Linked DNA regions of Homo sapiens: region 2 is linked to region 1. The links are contacts of gene promoters, found by promoter capture Hi-C in human tissues and cell types (Jung and others, 2019). All regions are on one chromosome and are shown on one strand. Each heading gives the region's core, a stretch centred on a gene start or on the middle of the fragment in contact. The rest is flanking DNA. Distances are from core to core; before and after follow the strand shown.

Region 1 (5,201 bases), core at 833-3,332:
AGGAAAACGAAGGGAGGCAGGGAGAGGGGTGGAGGAAAGAGGGAAGGGCCAAGGGGCTCTCCAGCAGACAGGGAGGCCTAGTGGCCTCAGGGTGCAGGGACGGGGTGGGCCCAGCAGGTGGGGGGCGCTGGGGACATGCAGGAGTTCCCGGATGTGCTTCTCACTTCAGCTGGGCTGCCCAGGACCTTCTCTGGGCTTCAAGCCTCTGAGGCCTCCCATGCGTCATTGCAGGGAGCTCAAAGCACAGAGGCTCACTCTGCTTCCCCGTGTGATTTTGGTTTCTTTCTAGAAAAGATACTTAGGCATGGGAAGAAATGCACATCTGATCAACATAAAGAACCTCATGTGAGTCCCCACACACCACAAACATCAATAGCTGAAGAACCCTGGTGTCAAACAAAATGAATGAACACCCAGGAGCTCACACCTACTGGGGTTTCTCAGGGTTTCTCTTGAGCAGGTGCAGAGAGGGCTCGCAGGGCAGGTTGAAGCTCTTGTGACTGACCAGTCCTCCTGCCCCACACTCAACCAGCTTCATTCCCTGTTGCCCTCCTCCTCCCTTTCTGCCCAACTTCTGCACTCCCCAGCCCACTCCATTTTTGACTTAATGACGTTGCAGTTCCCATCAGCCCCATATTTGGCTCTCTGCAAAGAGAAACAAAAATAATTCATCGTGCCAAAATTTGAAATTTGGGAGCTGCAGCTCATCTGATTACAAATGAGTACCTTTGTGCTTAAATTGCCACCACAAAGTGCAGACTATGACCAACATGCCAGGGAACAGAGCAGGACAGATCCACCCTGGGACTGGGGCTCAGCTGCCCCTTCTCTGTGGCCCCCTGACCCCCTAAACCGCAGACTGGTTTTCATTGCACACGTAGACTGTGCTTGGCTGGATTCTCCTTCGGATCCGCTCAGGCACTTTGGGGAGGATTTGGAAGGTCTGGGGCAGCAACTCTATGCAGGCCTCGCGGAATTTTTTGATTCTCCAGCAGTAGACGATGGGGTTGAAGACGGACTTGAGGTAACTGAGCCACAGGACGCAGGTGCTGGTGGCGTAGAAGGAGGAACCGCAGTAAAAGCGCTGGCTAAACACAGACAGGAGGCTGTAGACGGAGTGGGGCAGCCAGCAGAGGGAGAAGCCCACGAAGAGGATCAGGATGGTGGTGAAGGCCTTGGTCTTGAAGCTCAAGTCCACGCTGACCTGTTGCTGCCGCTGCAGGCGCCGCAGGCCCGCCCTGGTGAGCTGCCGCAGGTCCAGGCTGTCCGACTGGTTGTGCACGCGCACGGCGTTCTTGCGGACCGTGTTGAGGATGCACATGTAGGCGCACAGCATGACGCCAAAGGGCGCGAAGAACACGGCCACCACCAAGGTGACCACGTAGGCGCGGTCAGCGGGGAGCTCCGTGTAGCCCAGCACGCACTGTGGGGCCCGCGCCGGCACCTCCACCAGCGTCCAGCCCGTGAGCGAGGGCCCCGCGATGCAGAAGGACAGCACCCAGGAGACCGCGATGATCACCTTGGCCCTGCGCGGGTTCAGCTTGTCCTGGCGCTGGACGATGATGAGGAAGCGGTCCACGCTGATGATGAGCAGGATGGCCACGCCCTCCAGGACAAAAAACCAGTAGAGCGTGGCTGAGAGGCGGCAGAAGTGGTCCCCAAAGTGCCAGCGCACGGTGATGAGGGTGACGGCGGTGAAGGGCATGCAGCAGAGGGACAGCATGATGTCGGAGAAGGCCAGGGTGGCCAGCAGCAGGTTGATGGCCGAGCGCATAGCCGGCCTCTGGTACACGATGATGCAGACCACAGTGTTGCCCAGGAACCCCACCACGGTCATCAGCAGCATCACTATGGCCAAGGAGATCCTGAGGGGTGCGGGCAACTGGGTGGACCCCGAGTCTGAGGCGTTGCTGGTGTTCAGCAGCAGGTATGTGTAAGCCTCAAGGGACGTGCTGTTGCAGGCCATCGTGGAGAGACCCTTGGAGCTGGGACAGAAATGGCCGGGAGGGCTCCCCTCAGCACTTGGGTGGCTGCCATTCTTTGTCTGCTGGCTGCATCTTCCTGGATGTCTGTGGACCTCTGGGGCACTGGAATGGTCTTGGGGAGAAATGTCCGTCTTTGTGAGCACTAGCTGGGATTTGCGATTCATGGATCACATCCTAAGCATCTCTGTGGAGAGCGACTCTGTGCACAGCTTCGTGCTTGGACCCTCTGTAGTGGACAGCAAGCAAAAGTACAAAAGAGAAGGGGGTTAGAGTTTCCAAACGCGTTGAAGAAAGCACGCGTTTAAGCTTTACAGGTGTTTCTAAACAAGTTTATTTACCACGTGGGACAAAGCTTGATATTCACAAATACTGTCTGAGTCTTGTCAAGCAGCCCAGAAAAACCTAATCAGCTATCTTCTGAGGAAACTGAGGAAGTACACTTTGTAGTTAGTGTTTATGTAATAACTTGAGTTTTCAGCAACCTGTCGGAATGAAGCCTTGGTCTAGCCAACTAACGTTAGAATCCTGCTCCACAAGAGAAAGGTTTTGCTTGTTTCATTCTCTGCTATCTCCCAGTACTGACAACAGTGGCTGGCATGCAGTAAGTGTCCTTGTTGAGGACACTTGGATGCTTGTTGAGTAGATGAATAAGTGATAGTTGATGCTGCTGCTATAATATTTGTTTAGCTTTAAAAAACCCCACTTCATCGAGGAATGACTGACATGTCAAAAGCTGTACAAATTTACATCTCAATATACCAGAAACCCATCACCACCAAGGCCAAAAACATATCCCACTCCCCCTGCCAAAGCTCTCTCCTGCCATTTTTCTAGTATTATCATTTTGTTTTGGTGGTAAGAATACTTCACCTAAGATCTGCCCTCTTAGCAAATTTTAAGTATACATTTTTAAGTTTTAATTTTTTAAAAGAAATTGTAAGTCTGTTTGTTTAACTTTATTTGATAAGTGTAAATTCACATGGATAAGTGTAAATTCACATGGAGTTATAATAATAAATACTATGGTGAAATTCTGTGTGTCCTTCACCCAGTTTTCCCTAATGGTAACATCTTGGATAACTGTGGGGCTGCTATACTATTACTTCTGGAAGCACAGACTGGGAGAAGGGAACTTTCCCCAAAGGTAAGGCCTTTTAAAATACAATGTTAGCTGGGTGCAGTGGCTCATGCCTATAATCCCAGCACTTTGAGAGGCAGAGACAGGAGGATTGCTTGAGGCCAGGAGTTCAAGACCTGCCTGGGCAACATAGAGAGATCCCATCTCTACACACACAAAAAAATGAGCCAGGCTTCCATCTATAGTCCCTGCTACTCAGGAGGCCGAGGCAGGAGGATTGCTCAAGCACAGAAGTTCGAGGCTGTCGTGAGCTAAGAAGGTGTCACTGTACTCCAGCCTGGGTAACAGAGTGAGACCCTGTCTCTTAAAAAAAAAGTAAATGAAATGAGCTTTTATTCCTTACATTCTTGATAAACTTGCTTTCACTTTCAAAAAGATAAATATAATTTTAATTTTGTCTCACTGATGTGGCAAGAGTGTGTTCAGTAGCTCAGGTCTGAAGTCACATCGCCTGGGCTGGGGGAAATCCAGCCTGCGCCATTTATCCACCCTGGACATCTGGCTGTTGGATGCACCTCTTCTTGTAAGAAATTTCTCTTTTCTAAATTCCTTGTGGTCATTGTTACAGATAACTCACACTGAGAGGAATGTGGGCAATGTAAGAAGCCAGGAGGCCTCAGAGCAGGCTTAGAGGACCTGGGAGTGGCAGTGTCTTGGTGATGCTATACTTCAGTTTAGACCCAACCAATCCTTGGTCTTCCTTCCCAAACACACCCAGAATGGGTTCATCTCTCAGTGGTGGGCACCAGTATCCAAACTTTTTCTGAGCTATAAAAATCAGAAACCTGGTGTGTTAATTTATAAGTGGGAATTATCTCTCATTCAGACCAAAATTATGACCCTTCTTCATCTCAATTTTCTGATCTGTGAAATGGAGGTAATTACATATTTACCTCCAGAGTTGGTAAATATAATGTGCAATGTCTGGTAAAAGAAGGGCATTAATAAATTAACTCCATCTCCCTCACTGTTTCAAGTTTAGGGGTTTCTGTCTCTTGGATTAAACTGCAAATTTGTTCATGGCAGGAACCATGACATGCATGTAGGAAGCCCTAATGGATTAAGCTCCTCTTGGAGCACAGAATAAAGGACCACTGAGAAAAAACACAGTATCGTGCATCCATGTGCCTGTCAATCTTAGCCGATAGTGAATCCTTCATCTGCATTCCTCTCCATGCTATAAACTTAGATTTTCCCCACAATGATAGTTACAGAGAGTGATTTCATGCTTAATTAAAGGAACAAATAGTGCAAGGTATTTTTTTTAATGTATATGTCTTGTGGTTGAATCTGATTAAAATTCTTTTGGCTTCTGGACAACAACCTGTCTTAGGTATTTTAATTTAGCATTTTGGTCACAGTCCTGTTGTTAATATCTGAATCAACAGTGCTTTTATTACAAGGGACTAGGGCACTAAGATCTAAGTAAAAGGTAACAAGTGAACAAGAAATATTCTGCTGGTGTTCTTGGAGTAACAGCACTCACCGTCTCCAGCGACTTTCACGATGAGAAATGGGTGCCACAATATGAATTTAAAGCTGTGAAAGAAGCGAGCTGGGAACTGAACCGTTTCAAGGTATTTGTTTTAGTTCCTTTCCAAATGATCTCACCCTGGAACTGGGAGGCTGTGCAAGTGTCAGGAGGTAAATCTTCATCTCTGACTGAAGTGTGATTAATCAACTAAGGAAAGTGTGACCAGGCTGTGTGCTGCTGTGTGCCATGGTGTGGCTAGCTGTGCTCTGGCAGAGGCTTCAGTGAGCTGTGTCCACGCAAAAGATAGAAGGCGCTTTCAGCAAAGCGGACACGAGGCCACCCATGCATTGTGTTTACTGCAAGGTTTTCTAAAGCCTTCCCTCTGCATCCTCACGCCTGGCAAGAAGGCAGGGAAATTATGAAAGGGAAGCTCAGATACAGTCACGACAAGCCCCAGTTCAGCAAAGTAGTGACCAGTGGAGCCGAGACTGGAAGCTGAGACTCCAACAGAAAGATGGTTCTGTGGTGAGGACGGTGGCTTGGGGAGGATGACTTCACGTCTGTGACACTGACAAGCATAGGGAAAAGAAAAACCATCCTCCCA
Region 2 (5,201 bases), core at 680-3,179, 41 kb after region 1:
TTTACTCTCCTAAATTTGAAACACAAATAAAAATGTCAGTTGGTTACACAAAATGACAGAATTGAAGTAACTCAAGTTATGTTTGTTTGTTTGTTTAGAGACAGGATTTCACTCTGTCACTGATATGGTTTGACTCTGTGTCCCTACTCAAATCTCATGCTGAATTGTAATCCCCACATGTCAGGAGAGGGGCCTGGCCGGGGGTGATTGGATCACGGGGGTGGATTTCCTCTTTGCTGTTCTCCTGATAGTGAGTGAGTCTCATAAGATCTGATGGTTTAATAGTGTGGGCACTTCCCCCTTCACTCATGCTCTCTCTCTCTCTCTCTCTCTCTCTCTCCCTCTCTCTCCTGCTTCACCATGGTAAGATGTGTGGGCTTCCCCTTTGCCTTCCTCCATGATTGTAAGTTTCCTGAGGCCTCCCAGCCATGCTTCTGTACAGCCTGCAGAACTGTGAGTCAATTAAACCTCTTTTCTTCATAAATAACCAGTCTCAGGCAGTTCTTTATAGCAGTGTAAAAATGGATTAACTCACCCAGGCTGGAACGCAGTGGTGTCATTATGGCTTAGTGCAGGCTTGAACTCCTGTGCTCAAGCAATCCTCCCACCTCGGCCTCCCTAGTAGCCAGGAATACAGGCAGACATCACCATGTCTGGCTAATTTTTAATTTTTTTTTTGTAGAGATGGAGTCTTACTATGTTGTGCAGGCTGGCCTGTGTTTGTTTGGACCATCTCTCTGCTGTCATTGTCCATGGCAAATCTGTTTAAATGTAGGAATATGGTCTCAAGGGGGCTGGAGATGGTGAACTGGGCTCAAACCATTTTAGACTGTTGCAAATGACTCTAGAAGCAAAAAATTTAGTTGAGTATGCATCTGGAGGGCTGACTATATGCTGGTCATTCTCTCGAGGTACCATTTTATTAAGAGAAAGTAACACAAATGTGCTAATTTGAAGCTTTCACATGTGTTATTTAAACCCAATAACAACTGCAACAATGTTTAGAACTAGACCAATTAAGGATTTTTTTTTACTTACATTGTTCAGAATTGCCACTGCATGGTGAGGATAATAAGAAGGCTCATTTTTAGTCAGTTAATTGTTATTTTTAAATTCTGTCCAGACAACATACCCCCTTATTGCCTACTCCTGGGAAAGACCCCCTCCTGGCCCACCTTCGACATTGCCAAACCCAGTGGTCACTTCTCAGCCCTCATCCTAGCTGACCTGGCCACAGCATTGAACACAATTCCTTCTTCTTAAAACATTTTCTTCACGCGGCCTCTGGTCCCCCAGTGCCTCTGGATTTTCCTTCCGTTTCTCGAGCTGCTCCTTCTCAGTCTCTGTATTGGATCCTCCTCATTTTCACAGCCTCTAAATACTGAAATCACAAGGCTCAGTCCTCAGATGTCTCACTCTGCAGGTGATCTCCTAAAGTCCCAAGGCTTACTAACTGGTAATTCTCTGGAGACGATAATCTCCAGACACTTAAGGGCATCTGTGTGCTGAACACTTGAAAATTTGTATCTCCCAGTTGAGACTTCCTCTCTGAACTCAAATATTTTTATTTTTAAGAGATGGGAATCTCACTCTGTCACCAAGACTAGAGTGCAGTGGTGTGATCACAGCTCAATGCAGCCTCTAACTCCTGAGCTCAAGCAGTCCTCCCACCTATGCCTCCTGAGTAGCTGCGACTACAGGCGTGTGCCACCAAGCCTGGCTAATTTTTAAAATTTTTTATTTGTAGAGATGGAGTCTCACTTTGCTGCCCAAACTAGTCTCAAATTACTGGCCCCAAGTGATCCTCCCACCTTGGCCTCCCAAAGCACTGGGATTACAGGTGCGAGCCATTGTGGTGGCTGCGGATACTTATATTTAACAAATATGTTCTCAACACCTCCACCAGGATGTCTTGCTGGTGCCTCAAATTCACTCCTTGCCCCATCCAAATCCAGCTCTGCATCCAGTCCTTTCTCTGGGCAGATGGCAACTTTAGTTTTCTTGTGGCTTAAATCAAATCTTAGAATTAGTCCTTTGCTCCTCTTTCTTTTATACCCCACATCTAACCCATTAGCAAATCCTGTTCACTTCACCTTCAAAATATATCCAGAACCACCTGACTCTTACCCCTGCACTCTTGTTCAAGCCACCATCATACCTGCTTGGACTATTGCAGTAGCCTCCTATCTCTATTCCTGCTCCTCTACATGAGAGCAAGGGTGGCCATTTCAAAATGTAAGGGAGATCACTTATTCCTTTGCTCAAAACCCTCTTTCCGTCTCACTCAGAACAAATTCCAATACCTTCACCAAAGCTTTTAAGGTCCATTAATAATAATCCAGCACTATCCAAATCTCCAGCCACTATGTACTTTTACCCACTATCATTCTCTAGCCTGCTCACTCTCTGCAGCAACACTGCTTCCTTAATGCTTCTCAAAACTCTCAGTTACATTATTGTCTCAGGGCCTTTACACCAGCTTTCCCTCTTTCCTGGAACACTGTTTCCCCTGATACCTACAAAGTTCACTCCATCATTTTTTTACTTAACAATCATGTGATCAGAAAGGTCCATCTTTTTTAACATTTTTTATTTTTGTGGGTACATAGTAGGCATATATATTTATGGGTTGCATGAGATGTTTTGATACAGACATGCAACCCATAATAATAACATCATTGAAAATGGGGTATCCATCACCTCAAGCATTTATCCTTTGTGTTAGTGTTACGAACAATCCAATTATACTCTTTTATTTTAGAATGTACAATTAAATTATTATTGACTATAGTCACTGTACTAGTCCATGTTCATGTTGCTGGAAAAGACATACCGAGACTGGGCAATTTACATAAGAAAGAAGTTTATTGGATTTACAGTTACACATGGCTGGGGAGGTCTCACAATCATGGTGGAAGTTGAAAGGCACATCTCACATGGTGGCAGACAGGAGAAGAGAGCTTGTGCAGGGAAACTCCCCTTTTTAAGACCATCAGATCTCATGAGACTTATTCACCATCATGAGAACAGCATGAGAAAGACTTGCCCCCATGATTCAATTACCTCCCACTGGGACTCTCCCACAACATGTGGGAATTCAAGATGAGAGTGGGTGGGGACACAGCCAACCATATCAGTCACCCTGTTGTGCTATCAAATACTAGGGCTTATTCATTCTTTTCATTTTTATATTTTTTATACCCATTAACCATCCCTATCTCCCCACTACCCTTACCAGCCTCTGATAACCATATTCTTACTCTCTAACTCCATGAGTTCAATTGCTTTGATTTTTAGCTCCCACAGATAAGTGAGCACATGTGATGTTTGTCTTTCTGTGCCTGGCTTATTACACTTAACATAATGACCTTCAGTTCCATCCATGCTTTTGCAAATGATTCAGTCTCATTCTTTCTTATGGCTGAATAGTACTCCATTGTGTATATGTACCATATTTTCTTTATCCATTCATCTGTTGATGGACACTTAAGGTTGCTTCCAAATCTTGACTATTGTGAACAGTGTTGCAACAAACATGAGAGTGCGGATGTCTCTTTGATACACTGATTTCCTTTCTTTTGGGTATATATCCAGCAGTGGGATCACTGCATTGTATGGTAACTCTATTTTTAGTTTTTTGAGGAACCTCGAAACTGTTCTCTATAGTGGTTGTACTAATTTACATTCCCATGAACAACGTAGGAGGGTTCCCTTTTCTTCACATCCTCGCCAGCCTTTGTTATTGCTTGTCTTTTGGATAAAAGCCATTTTAACTGGGGTGAAATGATATCTCATTGTAATTTTGATTTGCATTTCTCTGATGATCAGTGATGTTGAGCACCTTTTTGTATACCTGTGTGCCATTTGCATGTCTTCTTTTGAGAATTGTTTATTAAAATATTTTGTCATTTTTTAAAATTGGATTATTAGTTTTTTCTAATAGTGCTGTTTGAGTTCCTTACATATTCTGGTTATGAATCTCTTGTCAGATGGGTAGTTTGCAAATATTTTCTCCCATTCTGTGAGTTGTCTCTTCACTTCGTTGATTGTTTCTTTGCTGTGGAAAACCTTTTGAAATTGATGTGATCCCATTTGTTCATTTTTGATTTGGTTGCCTGTGGAGTACCGCTTGTGGGCTAGTGCTCAAGAAATGTTTGCCCAGATCAGTGCCTGGAGAGCTTCCCCAGTGGTTTCTCATAGTAGTTTCATAGTTTGAGGTCTTAGATTTAAGTCTTCAATCAATTTTGGTTTGACTTTTTGATATGGCAAGAGACAGGGATCTAGTTTCATTCTGCACATGGATGTCCAGTTTTCCCAGCATCATTTATTGAAGAGACTGTCCTTTCCCCAATGTCTGTTCTTGGCACCTTTGTTGAAAATGAGTCCGCTGCAGGTGTGTGGATTTGTTTCTGGTTTCTCTATTCTGTTTTATTGTTTCATATGTCTGTTTTTTGTGCCAGTACCATGCTGCTTTGGTTACTATAGCTCTGTAGTATAAGGTCAGATAATGTGATTCCTCCAGTTTTGCTCTTTTTGCTTAAGATAGCTTTGGCTATTCTGCATCTTTTGTGGTTCCATAGAAACTTTAGGATGGTTTTTTCTATTTATGTGAAGAATGCCATTGGTATTTTGATAGGGATTGCATTGAATCTATAGATTACTTTGGGAAGTATGGACATTTTAACAATATTGATTCTTCCAATCCATGAATATGGAATATCTTTGCATTTTTTTGTGTCTTCTTCTATTTCTTTCATCAATGTATTATAGTTTTCTTTGTAGAGGTCTTTCACTTCCTTGGGTAAGCTTATTCCTTGGTATTTCATTTTATTTGTGGCTATTAAAAATGGTTTACTTTGTATTTCTTTTTCAGATCATTCACTGTTGGCATATAGAAATTCTAGTGATTTTTGTACGCTGGTTTTGTATCCTGCAACTTTACTAAATTTATCAATTCTAATAGTTTTTGGTGGTGGTTTTAGGTTTTCCTAAATATAAAATCGTATCATCTGAAAACAAGGATTATTTGACTTCTTCCAGAAAGGACCTTCTTGACCAGCATCTGCCCCATCACTCTCTATCTCCTTATCTAGCTTTATTTTTCTTCTTAGCCCATGCCACTATGTGATGTCTTAAATATCCATTATTATGCTGCTCACTTTAATTATGGAAAGTGGCCTAGCATTAGCTTGATTGCTTGG

What was found. Contacts are between HindIII fragments. The study calls those that stand out against the background at their distance.
Region 2: a contact is called between a fragment that was not itself captured here and the fragment with the promoter of GPR45 in region 1, in 1 of the 25 tissues and cell types used here (mesendoderm cells).

The regions. Positions count from the first base shown.
Region 1 is chr2:105,238,624-105,243,824 of GRCh38, reverse strand. GPR45 (G protein-coupled receptor 45) reads right to left here and starts at 2,082. Exons shown (of 1, transcript NM_007227.3): 1 at 358-2,082. The coding sequence starts at 1,966. The coding sequence ends at 848. The HindIII fragment of the contact is 15,889 bases long and covers 1-5,201 here.
Region 2 is chr2:105,197,539-105,202,739 of GRCh38, reverse strand. No RefSeq gene overlaps it. Among named protein-coding and RNA genes, the nearest start is that of GPR45, 42 kb to the left of the region's middle. RefSeq lists an enhancer at 4,923-5,201. The HindIII fragment of the contact is 3,263 bases long and covers 298-3,560 here.